Regions from separate parts of the Homo sapiens genome. Here all the other regions are linked to region 5. The links are contacts of gene promoters, found by promoter capture Hi-C in blood cells and fetal thymus (Javierre and others, 2016). All regions are on one chromosome and are shown on one strand. The core of a region is centred on a gene start or on the middle of the fragment in contact, and the rest is flanking DNA. Distances in the headings are between cores, read along the strand shown.

Region 1 (3,856 bases), core at 872-3,371, 1.2 Mb before region 5:
CTAAAATACTCTCGGTCTTCGGCCCAGCACAGAGCTGCACCAACCAGGGCCTGCCGCTGCCCCCCCACCAGGTGACAGGTGGGGCCGCCGAGCGGCCACCAGACCTCCGCCTCCTCGCGTTGCCTGCCGGGAGCCGGAGCCGCTTCCGGTTGCGCCCTGTCCCTGAACTTCGACTCCCGTCGGCCCCCGGGAAAACCGCAGCGGGGTAGCGCGGGCGCTGCCGGAACTTGTAGTTCCACCTCCCGCCGCGCTAAATAGCCGGAAACGGGGGCGGCCAGAACAGAGAACTACCGAGGCGAAGGTACGGGTGGCGGCGAGGGGTCAATCCGCGCCGGGGGTGGGGTTGGCTGTGAGGCCGTCGGAGGTGGTTGGGTGGGAGGAGATCCGCTCACACACACGAGGAGGAGGGTTGAGCTGCCGCCGCCGCCGCCTCTGTCGTCGTCGCGAGTGTGGAGTCGGGACTGGAGCTGCTGCCGCGGCGACGCCGGGGATCTTTGTCGCTAGCTCCCGGCCCTTCTGCCCCGCCGCCTTCCCTCAGTCAGCGTTGCCCACTCCTCTCCGGCCGGGCGCCCCTGCCTCCATTTCCCGCTCTCTGTCCACCACACACACGGCCCCCCCGATCATGGATCCGGGCAGTGGCGGCGGCGGCGGCGGCGGCGGCGGCGGCGGGAGCAGCAGCGGCAGCAGCAGCAGCGACTCGGCGCCTGACTGCTGGGACCAGGCGGACATGGAAGCCCCCGGGCCGGGCCCTTGCGGCGGCGGCGGCTCCCTGGCGGCGGCGGCCGAGGCCCAGCGGGAGAACCTCAGCGCGGCCTTCAGCCGGCAACTCAACGTCAACGCCAAGCCCTTCGTGCCCAACGTCCACGCCGCCGAGTTCGTGCCGTCCTTCCTGCGGGGCCCGGCAGCGCCGCCACCCCCAGTTGGCGGCGCCGCCAATAACCACGGAGCCGGCAGCGGCGCGGGAGGCCGTGCGGGTAAAGGCCCGGGACGCGGGAGGAAGTCCGGCCGGGCGCCGGAGCCCACATGGCGTAGGGGTGCGGTCCGGGGGCGCGCGGCCCTGGGGCCCGGTCGGCACGTGGGGCGCTGACAGTGGCGCCGTCTGCCTGGGTGGGGCGCCCCGAGCCCGGGAGCCGGCCTTCGCGGGGCGGCCCGCGGCGGTGGCCGGGCGGGGAGCGGACAGCGGGCAGCGCGCCCAAAGACCCGGACCCGAGTGCCGCCCCTCCGCGCCCCTGCCCTGCTCTGGAGTCCGCAGTTACCCACTTGAGATGGGAACCGTATGGAACGGAGTGGGGGCCGCGGCGGATCCCTGCCACGAGGCGCAGAATGAGGACAGATGGAGCCAGGAGTCATTTGGGTGGGCGTTTAGAGATCCCAGGAGTTGGGGAGGACGAATGGCCGAGTTTTCCTTTCACCTTAGGCCCAGCCGAGAGAGCGTCTTCTGCTGCGTTTTCTACTATTGAAACTGTAATTACGGTTTAAACTGTCCGTGGCCCCCAACCGTCCTGAAGGAATCCCAAGATGCATTGCAGCCTTGTGATCGGGCAGAAACTTGGCTATCAATACCAAGATCTGTTTTACCCTTAGCATTGTGTACGCTTCTAAAGTTTACAAAGTGCCACAAAGTTAGGATTCCTCACTTAATGTGTGATAGGAGACTATATTGATTTGTGTCTTTTTAAAGTGAAGCTTACACTTTTATCCTTTGTCAGCGACACGTTTAGAGAATTTTCATTGCTGTAAAATCGTTGACCTTATTCAGATTGCTTGGAATAACTCACTGTGTTCGTGCATCAGTAGTTCAGTCTATTTCTTCAGACACTTGAGCATTTGTTATAATTTAATAGTTCTCACGTGTCTTTCTGACCGTAGCTAGTAGACATACATTTTCTAATCCATAAAATTTCGAGTTAACTTTGGTTTTTAAACATCTTCCCGTACTTAGGGGTTGCTTAAGTCGTAGGTAGCATGCTTGCAGGTGCTGACGTTGTAGGAATATCCGGTGAGTGAACTTATGTATTCTCATAATGGTGCTTATTTTGTGGTAGGTAGCTTGCTTTCAGGTACTGATTTTGTGGGAATGTCAAATGAGTGAACTTAAGTATTCTCTTCCTAATGGTGCTTATTTTAGGAACTATCAGTGTTTCCTTAAAGAGAAAATGAAAAAGGAAGGAAAAGGCTGAACGTCCTTTCATCATTTAGCCAGGACGTTAGTGGGGTGGGTCATGACATCCAGCGCATTTTAAGTGAGAACATATTGTTGATTTCTCTCTTTAAAGTTCTGTATTGTGGTGGTTCTTAGATAAGTGGACATTATAAAAGTGCTCCAGGAGTTTGGTTTCTACAGAAACTTTTGTCACCGTTTGCTCTTTCGTGGTAAAGGGATAGTGTCTGGAGAAACACTCTGATGACGTATGTACGTCAGCACGGTTGATTTGGTGGTTTTGTTGACAGTGGCATTTATTTGTGTGGGTGGTTGATGTTTTCTTTTGAGGAGATCGAGCACTTTCAGGGTGGTACGGCTCTAGACAATGTTTTCCTCTTGAATAAGGAAGCTTAGCTTGTAATTCTTGACTTACATCAAGCCATTTTGACTGCCTAACCTAGTTCACTTCTCAGCTCCTAAAAGTGCCCATTCCCTACCTTACTTTGCAGATTCCGTTTATCCAGCCATTTTCTTTCTTGGCTCTTCCTCCTTTCTGTGGAGCCACCAGCACCACTCTGACTAGACTCAGGACTCCATTTACAGCCTGTCCAGCGAGTCATCCGGGGATAACCAACCTTGGTCTAGAATGGTCACTGTTGGTGACTAGGTATTACCTCTTATGCGGGCTTTCTCTCTTCCTGATAGTTGCTAATTTGTAGTTACACCTAATCTTTTTCTCTTTGACAGTGCTAGAAATTGGAGATGCGAAAACCTGTAGGGAAGTAGCTGTCAGTAAGAGAATCCGTACAGCATGGTCAACTTTCTTGTTTTTAATCAAAAAACTATTTTGGTGTTACCGACTTTACCAATTGCTTGTACCAAAATGCCAGTTCATGTTTTTAAAAAATTATCCTATGTAGGATGTCTATTTGGAAAAGAACTGATTTTCTAAGTTGAGGTCCAGGGTTATATTGAGACTGTTGGATTGCATGTTCCAGACTATTAAGTCCATAAAAAGCCAGCATCGGAGAACAATCAGTGCTTATAAAAAGCAGGGGGATAAATAGGAAATAACACCTGGATTGGAACTTACAAAGGGGGAACCAAAAAGTTTGCAAGGTTTTTTTGATAGCGAGGAAGTGGACAATAGGGCTAGCATGTTCTGTTCTTTAGTTAAGCCATAGCCGAAATTTGTGCTGGGTGTGTTTTTAAACTGCATGCCGGGAAAGCTGTTGAAGGAGCCTGGAGAGTCAGACCTTGGGATTCAGTATTGACCTTGGATCTCTTTGAAAACTAAAGAATATAGGTTCCTTAAGAAATAATTAAGTGGAACCCATTTAAGTGTAATTAAGTGTAATTCATTTAAGCACAGTTCTCTAGAGCCAAGTAAATTGGCCAAGAGATTCTCCTTAAAAAGTGAGGTCCCCAAGTGAATAAAAATATAGAAGACAAGGCTTAATGTATATTAGAACAAGCATTTTATCTGATAGGATGTATTTAAGTTGCAATTTGCACCTAGTTTTTTTTATTGTTAGATAAGAAACTGGTTTAGTAATTTTAGGGTTACTTGAACTTTTTAGAACAGCCAGAGCTTCTAAAGTAATGATGTGGTGTTCTTTGCATCATCCCACCTTTAATGCTTCTCAGAACTCACTGCCATTAAGAAACAAGCATGGAATAAAACCAGCAGCCCTCAGTACTTACTTGGAGGAG
Region 2 (3,479 bases), core at 721-3,220, 1.3 Mb before region 5:
GAGGCTGAGACCGGCAGATCATGAGGTCAGGAGTTCAAGACCAGCCCGGCCAACATGGCGAAACCCCATCTCTACTAAAAATACAAAAATTAGCCGGGCGTGGGCCTGTAATCCCAGCTACTTGGGAGGCTGACGCAGGAGAATCGCTTGAACCCAGGAGGTGGAGGTTGCAGTAAGCTGAGATCGTGCCATTGCACTCCAGCCTGGGAGACAAGAGCAAGACTCTGTCTCAAAAAAAAAAAAAAAAGTAAACTGTAGTAGGCCGGGCACGGTGGCTCATGCCTGTCATCCCAGCGCTTTGGAAGGCTGAGGCGGGTGGATCGCTTGATCCTAGGAGTTCAAGACCAGCCTGGACAGCATGGTGAGACCTCAACTCTACAAAAAAATAAATAAATAAAAATGAATAATAAAGTAAACTATAGGGTAAGTAACAGTACTGTGGTAAACAAAAGATTGACAGGTGAAAAGCAGCCAGCTACATACTCACCCACCCTGTGTCCCATGGACTGAGTGATCTATTAACACCTGCTCAGCGGAGTTCAGGGCTGAGCAGCGCCACAGTAAACCACACATGCTCACATACAAAAAGTGCGGCCAGCCGTTCCCACGCAGCAGCCTTACGGTGTCTGCTCACTTCCTGCTTCACCCTTGAATCAAAGAATGCTGGGTGCCTCCCAAACTCTTTCTTCCTTCCTTAGCAACAAAAACTAATTTCCTTTTTATCAAGAACAATTGCCCCCTCTGCAGCCAAGGGGGACCATGACATGAATGCTGGCCCAAGACACGAGTGGTATACTGTAAGCACCTTCTAGTGAAGGTCGGGGGAGCTTCAACGTTTTTGTACCAAGAGCCCATTTTGTAATCTAGGAATAACCATGGGCTCCTATTCAGGAAAATGTATTAAAATATATAAAACATACCATATCACAAAGGAAACCAATTACATCAAAATAGAATGATCATGATTGAAGAAAATACTATATTTCACCCAGAGCTAAATGAAAAACATTGTAATTTTTTTCCCTATCCAAGCTCAGGCCCCTGAATCCTATATGTAGAAATAGACGAAGTCTCTCTGCTCTCTCCTCCTTCCTGCCGCCTGGAATGAGAATGAAATGGCTGGAGCTAAAATGGCTATTTTGGTCTACAAGGCAAGACAGGAGGAGTCCCGGTCTCTGATGGCCGTGGAGCCACATACCAGCCCCAGCCCATCTACCTCTGGATAGAGAGAAATTTCCATCACATCTCCTTAACCACCGGAACTTCAAGAAGAGTAGGTCTGAATGGCTTTGTGTACAAAAAATAAACCAACTGTTGGTTTACATAGTGTCTGCTCACTTCCTGCTTCACCCTTGAATCAGAAAATGCTAGGTGCCTCCCAAACGCCTTCTTCCTTCCTTAGCAACAAAAGCTAATTTTTTTTTTTAATTGGGAACAAGTGCCCCCTCTGCCTCCAGGGGAGGCCATGGGACAAATGCTGGCTCAAGCCACCAGTGAGATACCAGGAGCACCCGTCAGTTTACATAACAGTTGGTTTATTCTTTGTTATACAAAGCCATTCAAACCTAGTCTTCCTTGCTATATCTCTAATACTTTTTCTAGGTAGTAAAGTTGGAAACAGTTGAAGCCTGATCATTAGCAAAGTTTAATCATCTTGGAGAGACATATTCTTCTTCACTTACAAAAATGAGTCCTTCAGAGTTACAAAGGAAATCCAACTAGAATAGGTCCTCTGTAGCTAACTGCATTATGGGAGGCAAACCCCAAAACCTGGAACCACAGAAGTCTACGGCAAGGCTGCTCCATCCTGAGGCACGCCCTTTAGCGCGCACACGCCCAAGCGCCACGCATTAACCACGGTTCTGGATATCCACAAGCACGTACCACACCTCCAGTCTACAACCAGGGACGTACACACCTGACGTGAACCCACAGTCACAGGGTTAGAAGCACAAAGGCACCGCCATGAGACGTGGGCCAGAAGTCATCCCAGAGCTGGTGGAGGGGGCTGCGAAAGTACTTACTAATTGTCATGGACTCTGGCACTGAGGCAGAAGGTAACAGGCTGCTCAGAGGACTTCCGTGGCCTGGAGAGCTGGCTTCCACACTAGGAAAAAGCAGGCAGGAGGAAGTTACACTCGGCCACTGAAAGTACACACCCTCACCATTCCAAAAACTAGCAGAGGTCGGTTTACTCCGGTACCTCTACTAGAAGGGATAGAGGCAGTCATTGGAAATTAGTCAGGCCTCGTTATCTGCAGATTCCGTATTTGGAAATTCATCTACGCACTAAAATTTATTTGTAACCCCAAAGTCAATACTTGAGGTGCTTTCACAATCATTCATGAACACGTGCAGAGGCCAATAATTTCACTCCCTAATGTGCATAATCTCAGCTGAAGTCGAACAGCTGGGACCTCAGATCTCACACCGTAAACAAGCATCCTCTTTGCTGTCTATTTACTGCCATGTTTTTAGCATTTTTTTTTCCACTTTTCTTTCTTTTGCGTGATCTCGGCTCACTGTAACCTCCACCTCCTGGGTTCAAGCGATTCTTGTGCCTCAGCCTCCCAAGTAGCTGGGATTACAGGCCCGCACCACCACACCCGACTAATTCTTGTATTTTTACTAGAAATGGGGTTTCGCCAAGTTGGCCAGACTGGTCTCAAAGTCCTGACCTCAAGTGATCCACCTGCCTCAGCCTCCCAAAGTGCTGGGATTACAGGCATGACCCACCACACCCGGCCTTTTTTTCCACTTGATTTTATTGTTTAAAATGTCCCCAAGCACAGTGCTGAAGTGGTACTGCCGACAGTTCCTAAGCACAGGAAGGCTGTGATGTGCCGTATGGAGATAATTTGTGAGTTAGAGATGCTTCATTCAGGCATGGCTTACAGTGCTGCTGGCTGTGAATTCAATGTTAATGAATCAACTGCATACATTAAACAAGGTGTCTTTAAACAGGAACAGACATAAAACCAGGTTATGTGTTGATCAGTTGATAAAAATGCTGTGACCAGGCCAGGTGTGGTGGCTCATGCCTGTAATCGCAATACTTTGGGAGGCCGAGGCGGGTGGATCACATGAGGTCAGGAGTTCGAGACCAGCCTGGCGAACATGGCAAAACCCCTTCTCTACTAAAAATACAAAAATTATCTGGGTGTGGTAGCACATGCCTGTAATCCCAGCTACTTGGGAGGCTGAGGCAGGAGAATCACTTCAACCCAGGAAACAGAGGTTGCAGTGAGCCAAGATCACGCCACTGCACTCCAGCCCCGGGCAAAAGAGCAACAGTTCATCTCAAAAACAAAATGTGTGACCAGAGCCTCAAAGCAACTTAACCATGTACTTCCCCTAGGAGCACTGGTTCAGTCTTCATAGCAACTTTATAGAATACAACTACTGGGAATAATAAGAATCAACTGTATGTTTACAAATAATTTACAACATGAAAAATAAAGTTTAGTGTCTTTGGTGAG
Region 3 (3,513 bases), core at 387-2,886, 1.9 Mb after region 5:
TTATTTTTGAGATGGAGTCTTGCTCTGTCGCCCAGGCAGGCTGGAGTGCAGTGGCACTATCTCGGCTCATTGCAAGCTCCGCCTCCCGGGTTCACGCCATTCTCCTGCCTCAGCCTCCCGAGTAGCTGGGACTACAGGGGCCCGCCACCGCGCCCGGCTAATTTTTAATATTTTTAATAGAGACGGGGTTTCCCCGTGGTCTCGTTCTCCTGACCTCGTGATCCGCCCGCCTCGGCCTCCCAAAGTGCTGGGATTACAGGCGTGAGCCACCGCGCCCGGCCTATTTATTTATTTTTAACTTTTTTTCCCCCCCGAGACGGAGACTCGCTGTCGCCCAGGCTGGAGTGCAGTGGCATGATCCTGGCTCACTGCAACCTCCACCTCCCGGGTTCAAGTGATTCTCCTGCCTCAGTCTCCCAAGTAACTGGGATTACAGGCACCCGCCACCAAGCCCGGCAAATTTTTGTATTTTTCATAGACACGGGGTTTCGCCATGTTGGCCAGGCTGGTCTCCAACTCCTGAGCTCAAGTGATCCTCCTGCCTCGGCCTCCCAAAGAGCTGGAATTACAGGCGTGAGCCACCGCACCCGGCCTCAAGTAAATTTTTGTGTGGACAAACATTTTTATTTCTCTTGGGCGCGCAGACACCTAGGAGTGGAGTTGATGGGTTTTATGGAGACTCCAGGGCTCGTGGTTTGAGGAACCGCCGGGCTTTTTCCACAGCAGCTGCGCGGTTGTTCCCACCAGCCGTCTAGGACGGTTCCTTGCCTGGCTTGGACTAGTTGGTTTCGCTGCTGGGCCTTTTCCCCAGTGGCCCCAATAGGGGCTGCAGAGTGAGGCAGGCACAGTCCTCACCGCCGCCTCCGGGGGCCCTGTTGTCCCGGGCGAGCTCCGGGGACCTCTCTCCTTCCCCGCGCCCCTCAAATACCAAGCTGACCCTGGTCCCGGGATCTAGGCTCGCCTTCAGGGGCTGCTCTCGACTGGCCGTGCCCATGGGCTGGTCGCCTCTCTGTGCCTCAGTTTCCTCTCCTGCAAAACAGAGGTAACATTTTTTACCTCCAAAAACAGAGGACTCAAGGAAGGCTAGAAATGAAACAAGAGAAGAGAACAAAATCAAAATCCCCAACGAGAAAACAAAACCCTGTTTTTCTGGTGTGTGTGTGCGTGTGTATTTTTTCTTTCCCTTTTCCTCCTTTCTGTTTTTTGCTTGTTTTCTTCCGTCTCTCTTTTCATTCCTTTATTTCCTTTCTGCTAAAAGTGACACCCTCCGGGATTATACAGATTTTAGAGCCAAAGGCAGGTGGGAGCCGCACCTGGCGCGCGTGGCGAGGGGAAGGAACTGCACGGGCGCAGGGACACAGTTCCCCCACTTTGCAGGGGCGTTTTCTGCTGGTGGGTGCAGCCCAGCTCCGCCCCGCCCCGCCCCGCCCCGGCCCCTACGTCCCGCGCTCTGCGTTCCGCTCTCCCGCCAGTCTAAGGCGCGGACACAAAGGTCCTGTCCGGGCCACTCCCGCCCCGCCCGCCCCCACCGTCCCGGGCTCCCTCCCGCAGCCCCATTGGCCGGGAGCTCCTGGGGGCGGGGATCGGCGCCCCACCCCCCCTCGGGCCACGCCCCCTCCCCAGCTCCGCGCTCTCAGTCGGAGCGAAGCGGCTGGCGGAGCAGAACGGATTGCAGGGTAGGGAGCTCTTCTCGGGGACCCCAGGATAGGCGCCCCTGGCCCGCGGCCCCGGGAGCCGCAGGGGTGGGGCCTCGGCCTCCTCTGCCTCCATCGTCCCCCATCCTGCAGGGTCTTCTAGCTCGGCAGAGGAGGGCTCCGGGCTGGGTTTCTCGGGGCCTGTTTGGGGAACGCGGGTTGCTCCTCCCCAGGGGAAGGGGTGGGTGTGGCAACAGCGGCAAGGATTCTAGGCGGACGTCGGGTAGTACTTCCCGCCTGGCCACCTGTTCTCTGCGTGCAGGGGAAGCTCTTCCCGCCCTCCCCGCTGCTTTTGCCTTTGGGCGGGAGCCCTGGACGGGGGACTCGCCGGGCGGTGGGGCGAGGCGCGGGGGGCGTCGCACGCGGGAAGCAGAGCCACCCCCCGCCGGGCCTGGCCGCGCCAGCTGTGGCTCGAGGTTGGGACGGCGGCCAGGCCCGGCGGGGGAGGTGGGGAGCCGTCCTGGCGCCGCGCGATTAGCCGCATCTGGGGGAGGAGGAGCCGCCGGGCGCGCTGGGCCCGGGTGTTTGCGCCCGGATGGGGGTGGGGGTGCCTTAGGCGCTGGAGAAAAACTTCACCCGCGCCCACAGGCCCCCTTTCCGCAGGCTGCGCTGGCGGTTCAGGTTTGCAGGCCGGAAGTGAAATGTTCTTTTTTGATTTTTAAAAAGGAAGCCTCCGGCCCTATGGTTTTCTGGGGTTGGAGTGGATGTGTGTGCTGGGGGAGGCGGAGACGTCCCGCTCCAGGCAGGGCCTTGGGTCTTAATAGGTGGGGAAATCTCTGCCAAATAGGAGGCCTCTCGGAGCCTCAGTTTCCCCATCTGCAGACTGGGCTCTGACTTCTTCTGGCATGAGAGGGTGTGTGAGAGTAAAAGGAGGCAGCTAGCCCCGTGCCGGGAGACACGTAAGCTACTGTTTTTTAACTTGCTGTTTTGATATTTCTCAGTCTCTCTGTGCCCAGTCTTGCTTGCCCCTGTCATTTGCTGCCACTCTGAAGCCAGAGGGAACTTAGAAAAACAATCCGCTTAGATCTACCCCACGCTGAAAATCGTCCACCGAAGTCCCATTGTCGTCTAAGTCCCCAACTTCTCAGCAGGGCTTCCTGTTATCTTCCGCCACTACCTTCTCCAGCCTCTCTCTGCCTCTGTTCTCCCTCCCTTCGGGCCTTTGGCCCTCCTCTGGGCTCGGGGTCCTCCTTGGAGACCCCACCGCCCTCTGCACTCCCTGGGTGGCCTCGGTGATGACCGTGAGTTCTCGATGCTGGTCCCTTCAGGGCAAGAAAGAGGCGCAGAGCCCGGCTGGGAGTAGATGTTTTCAATGAGCTGAGCTAGGCCTGGCGTGGGGCCATGGGGTGGGGTTGAGGGTGGTTGACGGTGGGTCCCCTAGGTAGGGGATCGGTCTTTGTTCCACCGAGTGGCAAAGCCAGCGCATTTGGTTTGTGTTCCATCAGCAGGGGCAGGAATGGGAGGGAAGGTGATTTCAGATGGGCCCGTGCCTGACACTTCCACCATCAGCCGCACTATTGTGGACTGAGCCCGCCGTGCGCTTGGCATTTTCGCGGCACCATCTGCACAGCGTCCGAGCCCTGCGACGCAGCACCGCTCCTGTCCCCTTTGACAGATGAGGAAACTCGGGTGGGGCGGTGAAATCGCCTGGCAGGGGTCACAGAGGGAGTGGGGACCAGTCAGGGCTCAATCTCAGGTCTGAGCCAAAGCCCCCCGAGAATGGAGGGAAGGATGGAGGGATTGAGTGGGGGAGGCGTGTAGAGTAGGGTTCTTGTTGAGAAGGAGGGCTTGGGCTTCCCGCAGGAGGGGCAGTCCAGGC
Region 4 (3,603 bases), core at 748-3,247, 1.6 Mb after region 5:
CTCCATTCTGCAGGTGAAAACCCAAGTTTAAAAGTTAATTCATCCAAGGTCAACAGGTAGTAAACAAGAGCTGGCACTCCCACCCAAGTGTAATCTATATTCCTATTCAGTTATTCTGATCCTCTTCCAAGCCTAGAGTATTTTAGCAAAAAGGTGGCTTCAGGTTGGTCCTAGGGCCAGCCTGCCTCTTAGGCCTCATCTCTTTGAACAGTTTCTCTCTCTTCCCTTCCTGCTCTCTTCACTTCACCCTTAGACCGTATCCCGACTACCAACATCATGCAATTTGCAGCTCTCTGAAATAGTGAGGCCTGCAACTATCTGTCTCTTCCAACATTTGCAAATGTCTGTCTCTCCCAACATTCACTCCCTGAGTGAGCCCACCTGTTCCCCAGCACCTCCCTTATGAGGCTCCTTCCCTGGTTCTCCTACCTCTCCATTTTAGTTTCCTGCTGGCTCCTCTTTCCCCCTCCTTGAAATTGAAACTCTCCGCTCACTCCTCAGTCGCCTTGGTGGGGTTCCCTTCTGCCCCTGAAAGGCTGGTGTCACCCTGGGTGATATCCTCAACCCCTACCTTACCCACACACGTTTCCCAAAACTAGACTAATGAGCTCAACGGCCCTCCCAGATTTCTAACTGCCTACTGGACATCTCAAACTCAACACCATCAAAAAGGAACTTCACTTCCTCTTCCCCAACCGGCACAAGCTTACTTTTAAAAAACAAAATAAACCAAAAAAAAATCTTGAGCTATCTTTCTACAGCATGGTACAATCAACCGTCTCTTCCTATAGAAAATATCTTTTCATCTCCATCTAATGACCTAAGCACAGTGCCTGGCACTTACGAATTCTGAAAAAGAATAATACTTCAAAGTCCTACCCCCTCATGTTGAAATCCACTGAAATCAAAGGTTCAACTGTTGATGTTTATTCACCTCTCCAACACCAGAAAATAAACCCAGGTGTTCTCTTCACTTAAATCATTGCCATCAAGTTTAAAACTCAATTATCCCCATTGTTGGCTTTTTTTTAAAGTTCTACCGCAAGACTAAACTTGAGGGGAGAGATGTGCCTTCTTTCATCCTAGTGTCTCAGCCTGTAACATATTACAAGGTGCCCATGTTCTTCAAAGATAACCTTTCGTACTTGTTTCATAATCCAAAAGGTAATTATTATGGCAAAATATGGGCACGTTCAGCAATAAACTGGGCTACTTCAATAATTAAAATCAAGATCCCCTTTATCATTTCAAATTATAAAAAGAATTCAACAAACCCCACCCTAATGCCCTTGTTAACATAGGAGTCTCATGGCAGCACGTTTAATACCTAACAACAAATATGGAAGGCTCAAAACACTGTATCAGAAGTGGACTAGGGATTTCAAGCAAATGTTCCTTATTGTTTCAGCTGCCATTCTCCATGAAAAAGAAGATGTGTTAAACATCAATTTGGTCAATCTGAAAATTCTAACAGCTTCTGGGAAATCATCTTTTTCTACTGGGTGTATGACCTGGGTGTTTATCTTGATAACTTTAATGTGCAATATGATCTATGACTGACTCTCATAGCAGTGAAAATATTTTCAAAGTCTGCCTACCTAATCTTCCCCAAAAAGACTTTTCACAAGGGTCAAAAATAATTAAGATTAACAACCAAAAAATGTGCATTTTGACAGCCCAAATTTTATTTTACAAACCAATGACAGCTACTAGAAGATGCTTTAGGAAACCTTAGCTAAGCCACATAAACAATCAGACCTATACAAGTACAGAAAAATCTAAACATGCTTCAGAACTAAAAAAAAAACAAAAAAAAACAAAAAAAACAAAAAAAAAAAACCAAGTTGTACGTCCTGAGGGCATACAACTTAATTTCTACAAAAACATACTTTTTCAAAAGGGCTATGAGAGTATCAATTGACAAAAGCAGAACAAGTAGCATGATTAGACAGAGAAGTCTTAATTGCTTAACACAAGATAAACTCAGCAGTTTTAAAGTGTCTGTATCCATTTTAAATGATTAGTCCAGGGGTAGAAAAGATGAGGATGGTTTCATCATACTTTGAAAAGGAAACTCCCACTGGAGCTAAAACAAACTTACAGTCCAGGTTATAAGAATCCAAGTTACATAGTAAATTATTAACTATTATTTTCATACCAAGTTCATGCTTAGGCAATAAGAAAATCCTGTTTGCAGCATTAATTACATGTAATTCAGTTTCCAGGCACATAGTTAGAGGTCACACACAGGCAGAGAAAGAACAAATGCCAGCCCAGTCATCTCACTGCCTCAGTCCAGCAGCCAGTGGCCCAGGACTTCATCTACACTGTCTATCTGCTTCCCAGCCACTTAAGCCCCACGAGGGAAGGCAAGGCAGCTAGCCCTGGAGGTGAGAAGACACCGTTGATCCACCAGCGCAGGTGCAGGGCCCTCTGCAGATTTGTTCCACCAGTGTATCTCCCATAGAAAATGGGATTTGAAATCACAACTTAAACCAAGTGGGTAATATCCTGACCGGGGGCCCTAAGAAACTGGCATTCTTGCATTGGAAATGAATTGCACTATTCAGATGCACAGCACTCCTTTTGCACAAAGTTGTGTTCTGAGGTGCCAGGACATCCAAGCACTTGCAGTGTCAATGTCGTGTTTAAGATGTACCAGGGGAGTTCAAACATTTAAAAAGGAATTCTACTAGGAAGATTTCAGTAATTTGAAGTAGATACCACTCCCCACCCCAATCTGTAAATTATAATACTGAATTTTTATTGAAATAAAGCACACTAAATCAAACCAATTACAAAGATACATGTGTCACACCAAGAAAACATTTTCAGTTATGCTGACAGCCCCAAATGTTTTCCATTTTTCAAAGACAGTTTGTAATGTCATGGGAAAATTGCTCACGACGTTAAAATGAAAAAAGCAAGATACAGTAATCATATATGCAGTATGATCTCAACTATGAAATAACTTTAATATTTATACATTGAAAAAAAGACTAGAAGAAAATGCACCAAACATTGAACTGAAGTTAATCTCTATATACTGGGATAACAAGATATTAATTTTTTACTTCTTGAAAACTTTCAAATTTTCCAAGAAATTAATCATAAAATCAGTGAGAAAATTGAACTTGAATGAATATCAAAACTGCTTAAACAAGGACTAGGCTGAGTAACCTGGCTTTGAGGCATGCTACATGGCCCTTTTCACTGCAATGAAAAAAAAGTCCAACAAAATTTTATCGCAGGTTCAAGACAATTTTGCATTACTGATGTTGGAAGCTTTATGTCCGACCTCCACAAACTTCAGCAGCTAACATCTAATCTTAATACACAGAAAATGCCAACTTCATTGAAAACTTTAATGCTATCTTAATTGCCTTAATTGTTCTTTTCAGGGGCTGGTTTGAACAAAGGGACATAATTTACAAATTCCAGACTTCACAGAAAATTCAATTAAAGATTCTTTGAAATAATTCATTTTAAGTAATTAAGAGACTGCTTTGGTGCATTAATCTCTTACATCTTAATTTCCAAAAGGTCTTTAGACACATTTTACTTTTAAACAGCTACCAACAGTTCTGTTACTTCAAGAAGATG
Region 5 (3,485 bases), core at 863-3,362:
CAACTGTAACTTTAGGACTGTAACCTCAGTCTAACTCCTTCCCTATTACTGATGTCTGTTAAACGCCACACTGACCATGTCCATTACAAGCTTATCCTCCCACATGCCAAACAAAGATGGGATGAGATAGTCCTTCCTCTCCTACCCTGAGACGTCTGCCTAATTAATTCTTCCTTTATTCCCTCTTTTGAATGTTTACTTTATTTTCTGAATAGTGTAGATATACTGGGCACGAATTAAAACCTCACAAGAATGTAACTACCTGCCACGAGGCCTACTGCACTTTTTCCTGCATGCTTTTTCCCCTTTTAATGAAATATATAAACACCAGCCTTCTGGAACCACTCCATCGAGCACAGGCCACAGATGTTTCTGTCACTTGTATTTTCCAGGGCACGCCCTCAAGCTCTGGCCCAATAAACCTCCACTGAGGCTCAGTTCAGTCTCTCCATTGCATTGACAGAGATAACTATTTTTCTCTTCATTTTTTTTTTTCTTTGAGACAGGGTCTCACTCTGTCACCCAGGCTGGAGTGCAGTGGCACGATCTCAGCTCACTGCAACCTCCACCTCCCGGGTTCAAGTGATCCTCCCACCTCAGCCTCGAGGGCGGGCATGCACCACCATGCTGGCTAATTTTTGTATTTTTAGTAGAGACAGGTTTCACCATGTTGGCCAGGCTGGTCTCGAACTCCTGACCTCAAGTGATCCATCCACCCGCCTCGGCCTCCCAAAGTGCTGGGATTACAGGCGTGAGCCACTGCACCCGGCCTGTCTCCATTTTTGATGAGGAACCAGAAGCTCAGAGAGGTTAGGACTATTGCTGAAGGTCACACCGCATGGATCCAAGAATCAAATCCAAGTCTCTCTCTGAACTCCTTCAAGATTCTCCCCCTTGGCCAGGTGCAGTGGCTCATGCCTGTAATCCCAGCACTTTGGGAGGCCCAGGCAGATGCATCACTTGAGGTCAGGAGTTCGAGACCAACCTGGTCAACATGGTGAAACTCTGGTTCTACTAAAAATATAAAAATTAGCCAGCCGTGGTGGCAGGCGCCTGTAGTCCCAGGTACTCGGGAGACTGAGGCACGAGAATCGCTTGAACCTGAGAGGTGAAAGTTGCAGTGAGCCGAGATCACACCACTGCACTCTGGTCTGGGCTACACAGCAAGACTCTGTCTAAAAAAAAAGGGGGAAAAAAAAGAAAAAAAAATATTGTCCTCCTGCCTCCTGCTTTTTAAGGTCCTTCTGAGCAGGCTCCCTGGGTCCTCTCATCCTGGAATCTGTGCTTCACAGCACTTAAAGCTGCGGTGGTTTAGTTGCTAGCTCACGTGTTTGTTTCCCCAGTAAAGCTAAACTCCACTAGAGCAGTGACCACGCCTGATCCCCAGCTGTGTCCCCAGGACAGCACCAAACCTACGAGGCGATCAACACATTTCTGCTGAATGAGTGGGAGAATCACTCCTCAAAAGGAAGAAAATTGTGTCAAGAAAGTAGCTGGCAGAGCCAGGATGTAAGTCCGAAGACTCCCCGACTTCGAAGCTTATCCCGTTTTTCTCTGCGGTCTGTTATTGTCACTCAAACCTCTGGCCCCGACCCTCTTAATTAATGTCCCTTTCGACTCCGCGCCGGTCAGTCTCCACCCTCCATCCGCGCCAGGTCCTTCGCGCTCGCCTTCTAAAGGCCTCGTTCCTGTCAGTCATTCCAAGCTCCGCCCTCACCCTGCCCACTTTCCACGCCCCGCCCCTTCTGGGCCCCACCCCTCTCCGAATACAATACCTTCTAGCCTGCCGCTGTCAGTCATTCTGCAGATCCCGCCCCCTCCCTCCCACGCCCCGCCTTTTCCGGGCCTGCGCCTCTAAGTTCCTGTTGAGGCCTTGCCCTTTTCTCACCCGTGTCCGGAGTGGCCCCCGCTCCAGAAGCGCACAGCCGCTGGTTGGGGCATCCCTGACATGAAGCCCCTCTGCCCGCCTGGGCGCTGTCGGCCCCTGGACAGTCTGCGCAGAGACAAGACCACAGTTAGAGCAGCTCCCGACACTTTCGCCCCGCGACCCACGCCCCCTCCGCGAGCTTACCGTGAGGCACCTCCTCCATTCCGTCGCCTTTGCCGCCTTCGTGGTCACCGGAACCCGCTGTCGTACATTTCCGCCTTGTGGGCACAATCTGATTCTCCGACCGCGCGAAATAAGTCTCGGAAAGGGGGCTGTGCGCACGCGCGAACCTTGGGCCGAAAGACTGGGACTCAACGTCTGTTCCTTTTCAGAGATTTCCTATCATAAATACTTCTGCAGTGCATCTCCTAAGAACAAAGCCATTCTTCATGACATCAGTGCCATTTTCATACCCAAGAGATTTAATATCGATGCAGTACTAGCCAATGCAGTATTAGCCAATAGACAGTTTATATTTCAATTTCAGTTGTTAGACCCCCTCCCCTGCTGGATTCACTCACTGCCTGGAGTTATTTCTCTTCGGTCTCCTTTAATTCAGATCAGTCCTTCTTTTTTTAGGGGGGGTCTCATCACCTTGATAATTTTGACGGGTCCAGACCAGTTGTGTAATAGAATATCCCATATTCTTGATTTGTCTAATCCTCCCCTCCCTCTTGCCTTGTAATTAGATAAAGGTTAATTTTTCTTTTTTCCTGCAGAACACACTTGGATAATGTCAGTTTGTCCCGTTTTTGGTAATGTGAAGCTTGATCGCTTGCTAAAGGTGGTGTCTGCCCCATTTCTCCATTTAATGTTTCCTTCTTCCATTTGTAATTAACAGGTACTCTCTGGGACCATCTTCTTCTCTATCAGCCTTTCACTCAGTGATTTTAGCAGCATTTATATATATATATATAAAACTATAGATTATATATATGATAAATATATATCAGTTTTATACCCTCTCTTTTTTTCTTTTTTTTCGAAGACTCACTATGGATTCCTGGATTTTTTAAAATTGTCTTTTATAATCAATTATTATTCTTTCTGGTCGATTTTTTTTCCCCCAGATGTGGCCAGTGAAGCCCCTTCAAGACAGTTCTTATGTTCTTTGGGCACTAATCCAGCTTCTTTGAGCATTTTCTTGCTTTCTGATACAAGATGTTTCAGTCATCCCTTCTCCCTGCTGCAGTCATTTCTTCAGGGAGCCTTGGTTACTTTTTAGCAGACAACAGTTCAGAAACCAAGATGTGGATGCCACAAATGCTCATTGCTACTGGAGTGTCATTGCTCACAGGTTTGGCACCTGGAATATTAATGAGTGAACAAACTTTACCTAGCCCCAGACACTAAGAATATGGAAACGTTTATTTATTTATTTATTTTTGAGGCGGATTCTCGCTCTGTCACCCAGGCTGGAGTGCAGTGGTGGGATCTCGGCTCACTGCAAGCTCCGCCTTCTGGGTTCACGTCATTCTCCTGCCTCAGCCACCCGAGTAGCTGAGACTACAGGCCACCACGCCCGGCTAATTTTTTGTATTTTTAGTAGAGACAGGGT
Region 6 (3,559 bases), core at 419-2,918, 1.1 Mb before region 5:
TACTCGGGAGGCTGAGACAGGAGAACTGCTTGAACCCGAAAGGGAGAGACTGCAGTGAGACAAGATCACTGCACTCCAGCCTGGGCGTCAGGGCAAGACTCCCTCTTTAAAAAAAAATTGGCCGTGGTGGTTCACGCCTATAATCCTAGCACTTTGGGAGGCCGAGGCAGGTGGATCATGAAGTCCAGGAGTTCAAGACCAGCCTGGCCAGGATGGTGAAACCCCATCTTTACTAAAAATACAAAAATTAGCCGGGCGTTGTGGCGCGTGCCTGTAATCCTAGTTACTCGGGAGGCTGAGGCAGAGAACTGCTTGAACCCGGGAAGCGAAGGATACAGTGAGCCCAGATCGTGCCACTGCACTCCAGCCTGTGCGACAGAGCGAGACTCCATTACAAAAAAAAAAAAAAAAAAAAGGAAAAAAATTAATTAAACCCATCCAACAAGAGAAAGGAGAAGTATCTCCTAAACATGCCTAGAACATCTCTGGAAGGTTCCAGGAGACACTGGTAAGGGTACCTCTGGGGAGGCGGGTGGAGTGGGAGGAAGACATTACAAAGCAAACCTGTCCTACCCAAGGGCCGCGTGCGGCCCTGGAGGCCAGGCTTTGAATACAGCCCAACACGAATTCGTAAACTTCCTTAAAGCATTACGAGATTTTTTTTAGATTTTTTTTTTAAAGCTCGTCGGCTATCATTAGTATTAGTTTTATATATGGGCCCAGGCAATTCTTCTTCCAGTGTGGCCCACGGAAGCCAAAAGATTGGACTCCCCTGTTCTAAGGTATTCCATTTGTCAGTTATCCAGCCTCCACTCCTAACCTGTTTGTTTAGCGACAAGGTCTCACTCTACTGCCTACGCTGGAGTGCAGTGGCGCGGATCAGAACTCACCGAGCCTCGAATTCCTCAAGATCCTCCATCCTCCGCCTCCCAAGTAGCCGGGACTACAGGCGCGCACCACCACGCCGGCTAATGTTTATAATTTTTGGAGAGACGGAGTCTCGTATATGCACGGACTGGTCTCCAACTCCTGGAATCCCTCCGCCTCGGCCTCCCAGAGCGCTGGGATTCCAGACGCCAGCCACGCGCACGACCAGCCACGCTTATTTGTACAGGATCTTACCTCCCGCCTCTCTGCGAGACCAGAAGCTCCTAAGAGACTGGCCCAGACTCATCTTTCGGTCCCTCATGCTGCTTAACGTGGCAGGTCGGGTGGCTCCGGGTGGCTCCCGTGCCTTATATTTCAGGGACTCCTCACCAGCCTGGGGTTGGCGTCGCCTAAAGTCAACGGGCAGGTGGGCAGTGGAGCCAGGATTCCGCGCTCTGCCCATGCCACGCGCGGCCTTCCCGGAGGCGGGGACCGTGGAGTGTGGAGGACCCCACTGGGCCTCCTGACGGGACTCTTCTCTCGCCTCAAGGCGCTTTCTTGATTTCTATCTAGTAAGAGTGAGAGGACACCCAAGCTACTCCCCACAGCTCATGGAAAGCTGGAGAAAAGCGGAAGAGCAGGTGCCTCCTCAAAGAAGGGATTCTGACAGCAGCCACTGCCCCGGAGAGCGAAACCCCACGCTCTCCCGGAAATGACGCACAGAGGCTCGGTTCCCGCCCCCTCGCTTCCGGGGCCGGGCTTGCTCGCGCGTGCGCACCAGAAGCCAGCAGTGGGGTTGCACACGCGCCTCTTCACGAGGTGGAAACAAGATGGAGGATTCGGCCTCGGCCTCGCTGTCTTCTGCAGCCGCTACTGGAACCTCCACCTCGACTCCAGCGGCCCCGACAGCACGGAAGCAGCTGGATAAAGAACAGGTGAGTGGTTCCTGGGGAGGGTGGCTTGGAAGCAGTGTGGCGGTTACCTCGTGAGGCGCAGGGTGCCGGAACCCGAGTGCGTGCTCGGCGGACTTCCCCGGGGCTGTGGGACGGTCGCTGGCGGGCCGTGTGCCTCAGCTGTCTCTCCCCTTTACACACGTGGGTGGGCGCCTGCTTTCCCTGGTCCTGCGGCCTGGCGCTAGTGAATTGGGTTGCAAGTGTGCTGTGGAGCTAGATGAGATAGACCTGGCGACCTGGCTTAGCTTCCCTATCATTAGCGCTTGACCGAATCGCTTAGTTTTGCAGGTCTGTTACCCGTTATTTAAAGTGGGCCCTTCGGCTCCCCGTTATCCAGGATCGGGAGAGGTAATGAGTGTAAAGCGCTTTGGCCTGGTACATGGTAAGAAGGTGCTCAGTAGGCCGGGCGCGGTGGCTCACGCCTGTAATCCCAGCACTTTTGGAGGCCGAGGCGGGTGGATCACCTGAGGTCAGGAGTTCGATACCAGCCTGGCCAACATGGTGAAACCCCGTCTCTACTAAAAATACAAAAATTAGGTGGGCGTGGTGGCGGGCGCCTGTAATCTCAGCTACTCGGGAAGCTGAGGCAGGAGAATTGCCAGGAGTTCTCAGTAAATGCTAAATGCATTTTGCTTTGCGTTTTTCCTGGGATTACTGCTTTCATCATTGAGGGCAGGAGGGGCACGTTTCCCTCTAGCCCAATCTCTTTAAGTAGAAGAGGTGCCCTTCTGCACACAGTACTGGAAGTGGGTACTTAGGCATGTTTGATGGATTCTTAGATTTCTGTGAATATAAACTGCAGGATCCTAATAGATACGGTTATGGAGGTTACCCCTTGAAATAGAAGTTGGAAGGGAAAAAATAGAAGGTGTGGGAGGGGGCAAATGCTAAATTAGATTGAGAACATTTCATTTATTTGTGTAAGTTATTGTGAAAACATTTCACTTATTTGTCTAATTTCCACTTTGCAGGTTAGAAAGGCAGTGGACGCTCTCTTGACGCATTGCAAGTCCAGGAAAAACAATTATGGGTTGCTTTTGAATGAGAATGAAAGTTTATTTTTAATGGTGGTATTATGGAAAATTCCAAGTAAAGAACTGAGGGTCAGATTGTAAGTTGTGATTTTCTACCTTTGCTGTTTTTATCTGTGTGTTTATTCTTTGTAACTCGAACAATTGCATCATGGTTACTAATGGAAACTTTGCAAACTTATAATAAAAATCTGACGTGAAGTAAAACAACTATGTCCAAAAGAACCATAGAGGCTTGATGTGGTGGCTCACACCTGTAATCCCAGCACTTTGGGAGGCCGAGGTGGACGGATCACCTGAGGTCGGGAGTTCAAAACCAGCCTGGCCAACATGGTAAAACCCTGTCTCTCCAAAAATACAAAAATTAGCCAGGCATGATGGCGGGTGCCTGTAATCTCAGCTACTCGGGAGGCTGAGGCAGGAGAGTGGCAGTGAGCGGAGATGTCTCCATTGCACTCCAGCCTAGGCGACAGAGCAAGACTCTGTCTCAAAAAAATAAAAAATAATAAAAAATAAAAGAACCGTAGAAATTCAGATGTGCTAAAATTTTCTAGAAATTTCACCAGTTTTCTTAGAGCTTGGTGGACAGCTAACGTAATCAGGTCTGTTGAATCGAAAACGTGGTGTTCGAAAGAATAAAGGTGGAATAAGTTAAACAGCTTTATTTTATTTTATTTTTTTATTAGAAACTGTTATCTTTCCATGTCA
Region 7 (3,936 bases), core at 55-2,554, 1.8 Mb after region 5:
AACAGTGAGCAAAACATTCTTTCGGGGGGAAGGGAGATGAACAGTACATAAATGGGAGAAAAATGCAGGGAAAGCGGGTATAGGGAGATGGAGAGAAGACAGGTACCACAATCTTCTGGCCTTGTTAGGGTGAAATTCTATTCTCCCCTGAGATGTGTAGAAATGTATATCGGTTTGCTCCATTTTTATTGACCCACACTGCCTTGATTAACTGGAAAAGTTGAGACCCTAATCATCAGTCTGTCAATGACTGAATGAGACAGGACAGGAGATATATTCACCAAATGTCTCCTGGAATAGGGAGGCCCCGGGTGAATGATCCCAGACTGGGTTGATAGGAAGGAAGTAAATTAATACCAAATGTGAAGGGTAGTGGGCTTGTTTTATTTTTATATTATTATTTTATTATCACTATTAGTTGAGACAGGGTCTCATTCTGTTGCCCAGGCTGGAGTGCAGTGGCGCCATCTTTGATCACTGCAGCCTCAGTCAACCTCCCAAGCGAACCTCCAGCCTCAGCCTCCCAAGTAGCTGTCACTACAGGCAGGAGGCACAACACCCGGCTAATTAAAAATACATTTCAAAAATATAAAAACAAAACCCAAAACCTTTGTAGAGAGGGTGGTCTCTTACTCTTGGCCTCAAGTGATTCTCCCACCTCGGCCTCCCAAAGTGCTGGGATCACAGGTGTGAGCAGCTGCGCCCCGCCTGGGGTTGCTCTTGAGGAGCCAAACTTTGCCAGATTAGGCTGACAGTGAGAAAATAAATTCTTCCACGGTAGATACTGGGTGAAAAAGTGCACGTCAGCGGGCAAGGGTAAGTAACGACAATAACAGGAACTTCTAGGCGCTGACCCCAAGCTCCCTTCCGGGCCCTATCCCGAGCAGTCCCCGGGCAACCTCCAGCGCTCGCCCCGGCGCGCTAGGCTGGGACCTGAACCCCGGCTGCCGGGTGGCTTCTGGGCCCCTCCTCATTGCCGCTCCTGGGTCTTTCGGGGTGTCCGGCTCCCCAGGATGGGAAGGATTCCGGTTCACCTCCGCAGGGCTAAGTCACCGGGCGGCCCGCCTCGGCCCCCAGGGCCCGGGGGCAGGGAGCGCCGAGGGTCCGCCGCGGGGCTGCGGCGCAGGCGGTGCCGGGGCGCGGCGCTGCGGGGCAGGCGGGCCTCGGCGGCGGCGGCAGGCGGGTCGCTCCCTGCTCCGCCTCCCGTGCTCCGCCCTGCGCTCCCGCTCCGCCCTCCGGCTCGGCGCCCGCCCGCTTGCTCTCCTCGCTCGCTCGCTCGCTCCGCGGCCCCCCATGCGGATGTGACATTTCACGCCGCCGCCATTTTGAGAGCGAGCCGAGCCGAGCTGCCGGGCGCCGCGTCCGCTGCCGGAGCCCCGACGACGACGCCGAGGAGGCGGAGGCCGCGGCTCTCGGAACGCGGCCGGCCCGTCGCCCGCCCGCTCCGCCGCTCCCGCCGGCCCCAGGGCCCGCAGGCCCGCCGCGGCCGGCCAGGCCTCCCGTCCGCCGCGCCCGGCCCGAGGCGGGGCTGACTCCGCGGCCCCCGACCGGCCGCCCTCCGCCCCCGGCCGGCCCGCGGCCCCGCAGCCCCGGCCCCGGCCCCGGCGGCGGGAGGCGGGCCCCGCGGCGGCGGCGGCGGCGGCCGCAGCGAGCGACGAGGCCGCCCGGCCCGGCCCGCCGGCCGCCCGCCCGCCTCGGCGCCGAGATTGGGCGAATCGCGAGCAAGTACGTGCGCGTCTCCCTGCCGCCGCCGCCGCCCGCCGCGGGCCGCCCCGGGGCCGCCGTCGCCGACGACGCGCGGGAGGAGGAGGAGGAGGCCGCCCCGCCGCCGCCGCCGCCGCCGCCGCCCCGGCTCGCCGCCGCCCGCCCGCCGGGCTCGCAGCCCCGGCCCCCGGCCGCAGGCGAGGCCCAGGCCGCGGCCGACATGAACCACCAGCAGCAGCAGCAGCAGCAGAAAGCGGGCGAGCAGCAGTTGAGCGAGCCCGAGGACATGGAGATGGAAGGTGAGGCCCGAGGGCCGGCCGCGGCGGGGCCGGGGGGCGCCTTTCATTGTGGCCGGGGGAGCCGCGGGAGCCACGCGAGGGGCTCGCCATCTTTAACCAGGCCCCGGGCGGCCGCCGGGCCTCGGCCTGGCCTCCCGGCCCCGGCCTGCGAGGCTGCAAAGTCATGCCGGGTCCGCGGGCGAGGGGCGGCCGCCGGGACCCCGGCCCCGTGCATTGTCCCGACCTCGCGTCCGCCGGGCCTCCGCGGCACAAAGCGCCCTGAGTTGTAAATTCGAGCGCTCAGGCAGCGGAGGGACGGAGGTGTTTTCTCACCCAGGTTGGGAGGCGGACTCCGGGGACCGTCCCCGTTCTGGGGCGTCCGGTTGGATCTGGTGTGGCTGGGGAATTCCTGACCTCCCCGGGCGCGGGGCTCGCCCGCACCTGCTCCGGTGCGCTCCCCCGGAGGGCGCGCCGTGGCTCGGAAGCGCTCTTCCAAATCACTTTCTAACAGCACTGCCTAGCGTCGGGCTTACGTTCGAAAATACCTGCAAGGAACGCAGATGTTGTCAGGTTTTGGACTGGCCCAGAGTTCTGACCCGGGCGCTGTTGGTTTCCGAATCCACCTGTTTTTCGGGGAGTTTGTACTTGGCAGTGTGTGGTGCAGCCAGCATCCGGCCAGGTGTGCGCTTGCAACCGTGCGAAAGCCCTGCCGCACATGGCTGCCTGCATCAGAATCAAACCTGACTCGAAAGGTAACTCGGTTTTCTGCCGATGTGGCAGTAATTTTCCAAGGCACTGTAGTTTGAGGTATAGAGTCTTGGTTGTAAAGGTTGGATGTGAAGACGCTGTAAAGAGAAGGGTGTTGGATTTAGGGAGTTGGTCGTTGGAAGGCACTTTTTCTCACGACCCATTTCACTGAAACAAAGCAAAGTCCAAATGGTCTTTAAAAAGTTTTCTTACCTACGTGACGAGTTCAGGCTGTCGGGAGTCAAATGGAGGCCACCTGAATGAAAACGGCGTGGAATGCTTTAGTTTTGCTTTTAGCAAGGGATCTTGGGTTGCCTCAATGAATGAAGCTCCAGGGGAGCTCAGGAAAAGCAGTATTTGTCCTGTGCGGTGGCTCCAAGTGTGGGGCGCTGCACACCGGTTGGTGGGAACACTTAAGCGTGACTGGTGTTCACCTCTGAATAGAATAACTTACTTCCAGTAATTGGATAGTCACTGAAAAAATGGCTGGCCAGGTTGCAAATGACAAAGTGGCTGGGATTCTGCAGTAGGCACTCCCCAGTGGTATTTATCAATGGCAGTAATGGGGGACAGAAGAGCGGAGTCCACGCCAAGGACTGGGTTATCTGTTTCACTTGGCCCCAGCAAAGCAGCAACTAAGAGCGCCTGTTATGTGTGATTAAACCAAATAGCTGAAAAGAAGTACTTTACTGAGGGAATTTTGTGTATTCCTTTTGTGCTGTATTTTGCAGCCCATCTAAAACATAAAAGAGGGTTGCTTTTCAGTTTCCTTTTCAAATGGTACCCGGTCAAGACAAATATCCAATAACACGAGCATATGGATTTCCCATGACATTGTCCTACCGCTTTCCAGGTGTTTTTGGACACTAGTGAGAATTAATAAACAGACATTACTGCAGAGCATGTGTGTTACAGACCTGTATCTTTGGGAAAATGACCAGGTCCACAAATTTCAAGGTATTTGCCCCCCCCCCCCTTTTTTTTTTTTGAGACGGATTTTTGCTCTTGTTGCCCAGGCTGGAGTGCAGTGGCGCGATCTCGGGTCACTACAACCTCCGTCTCCCGGGTTCAAGCGATTTTCCTGCCTCAGCCTCCCAAGTAGCTGGGATTACAGCCATGTGCAACCACGCCTGGCTACTTTTGTATTTTTGTTAGAGACGGGGTTTCTCCATGTTGGTCAGGCTGGTCTCGAACTCCCGACCTCAGG

Evidence for each region. The method cuts DNA at HindIII sites, captures the fragments that hold promoters and counts their contacts. A CHiCAGO score of 5 or more calls a contact.
Region 1: a contact is called between a fragment that was not itself captured here and the fragment with the promoter of NUBP1 in region 5, in 1 of 17 cell types (total CD4 T cells). The highest score is 5.6, in total CD4 T cells.
Region 2: a fragment that was not itself captured here is called in contact with the fragment with the promoter of NUBP1 in region 5 in 2 of 17 cell types (non-activated CD4 T cells and total CD4 T cells); the score reaches 5.1 in non-activated CD4 T cells.
Region 3: the fragment with the promoter of CARHSP1 here is called in contact with the fragment with the promoter of NUBP1 in region 5 in 1 of 17 cell types (non-activated CD4 T cells); the score reaches 5.3 in non-activated CD4 T cells.
Region 4: a fragment that was not itself captured here is called in contact with the fragment with the promoter of NUBP1 in region 5 in 1 of 17 cell types (M0 macrophages); the score reaches 6.0 in M0 macrophages.
Region 6: a contact is called between the fragment with the promoter of RSL1D1 here and the fragment with the promoter of NUBP1 in region 5, in 2 of 17 cell types (fetal thymus and total CD8 T cells). The highest score is 7.2, in fetal thymus.
Region 7: the fragment with the promoter of USP7 here is called in contact with the fragment with the promoter of NUBP1 in region 5 in 7 of 17 cell types (non-activated CD4 T cells, total CD8 T cells, naive CD8 T cells and 4 more); the score reaches 13.9 in non-activated CD4 T cells.

Annotation. Positions count from the first base shown.
Region 1 is chr16:11,912,487-11,916,342 of GRCh38, reverse strand. It overlaps GSPT1 (G1 to S phase transition 1), which reads left to right and starts at 387. Exons shown (of 15, transcript NM_002094.4): 1 at 387-974. The coding sequence starts at 623. RefSeq lists silencers at 1-57, 768-837, 928-1,167, 1,208-1,257 and enhancers at 248-397, 6-943. The HindIII fragment of the contact is 866 bases long and covers 1,689-2,554 here.
Region 2 is chr16:12,077,461-12,080,939 of GRCh38, reverse strand. It overlaps SNX29 (sorting nexin 29), which reads right to left. Exons shown (of 21, transcript NM_032167.5): 11 at 2,025-2,107. Among named protein-coding and RNA genes, the nearest start is that of SNX29, 100 kb to the right of the region's middle. The HindIII fragment of the contact is 4,146 bases long and covers 1-3,479 here.
Region 3 is chr16:8,867,129-8,870,641 of GRCh38, reverse strand. It overlaps CARHSP1 (calcium regulated heat stable protein 1), which reads left to right and starts at 1,636. Exons shown (of 4, transcript NM_014316.4): 1 at 1,636-1,676. CARHSP1-DT (CARHSP1 divergent transcript) reads right to left here and starts at 1,361. Exons shown (of 2, transcript NR_186721.1): 1 at 1,314-1,361; 2 at 603-1,029. RefSeq lists a silencer at 1,314-2,273 and enhancers at 2,414-2,473, 3,479-3,513. The HindIII fragment of the contact is 19,717 bases long and covers 1-3,513 here.
Region 4 is chr16:9,111,242-9,114,844 of GRCh38, reverse strand. The region is part of intron 3 of HAPSTR1 (HUWE1 associated protein modifying stress responses); the gene reads right to left. Among named protein-coding and RNA genes, the nearest start is that of HAPSTR1, 21 kb to the right of the region's middle. The HindIII fragment of the contact is 2,580 bases long and covers 708-3,287 here.
Region 5 is chr16:10,742,469-10,745,953 of GRCh38, reverse strand. NUBP1 (NUBP iron-sulfur cluster assembly factor 1, cytosolic) reads right to left here and starts at 2,112. Exons shown (of 11, transcript NM_002484.4): 1 at 2,072-2,112; 2 at 1,889-1,993. The coding sequence starts at 2,090. RefSeq lists an enhancer at 2,254-2,303. The HindIII fragment of the contact is 1,155 bases long and covers 1,541-2,695 here.
Region 6 is chr16:11,849,651-11,853,209 of GRCh38, reverse strand. RSL1D1 (ribosomal L1 domain containing 1) reads left to right here and starts at 1,668. Exons shown (of 9, transcript NM_015659.3): 1 at 1,668-1,802; 2 at 2,792-2,931. The coding sequence starts at 1,698. RefSeq lists enhancers at 466-999, 1,000-1,534, 1,307-2,506 and a silencer at 1,552-1,738. The HindIII fragment of the contact is 5,793 bases long and covers 1-3,559 here.
Region 7 is chr16:8,961,274-8,965,209 of GRCh38, reverse strand. It overlaps USP7 (ubiquitin specific peptidase 7), which reads left to right and starts at 1,304. Exons shown (of 31, transcript NM_003470.3): 1 at 1,304-2,003. The coding sequence starts at 1,925. It overlaps USP7-AS1 (USP7 antisense RNA 1), which reads right to left and starts at 2,497. Exons shown (of 2, transcript NR_184341.1): 1 at 2,316-2,497. RefSeq lists a silencer at 842-1,201 and an enhancer at 2,397-2,933. The HindIII fragment of the contact is 5,189 bases long and covers 1-3,936 here.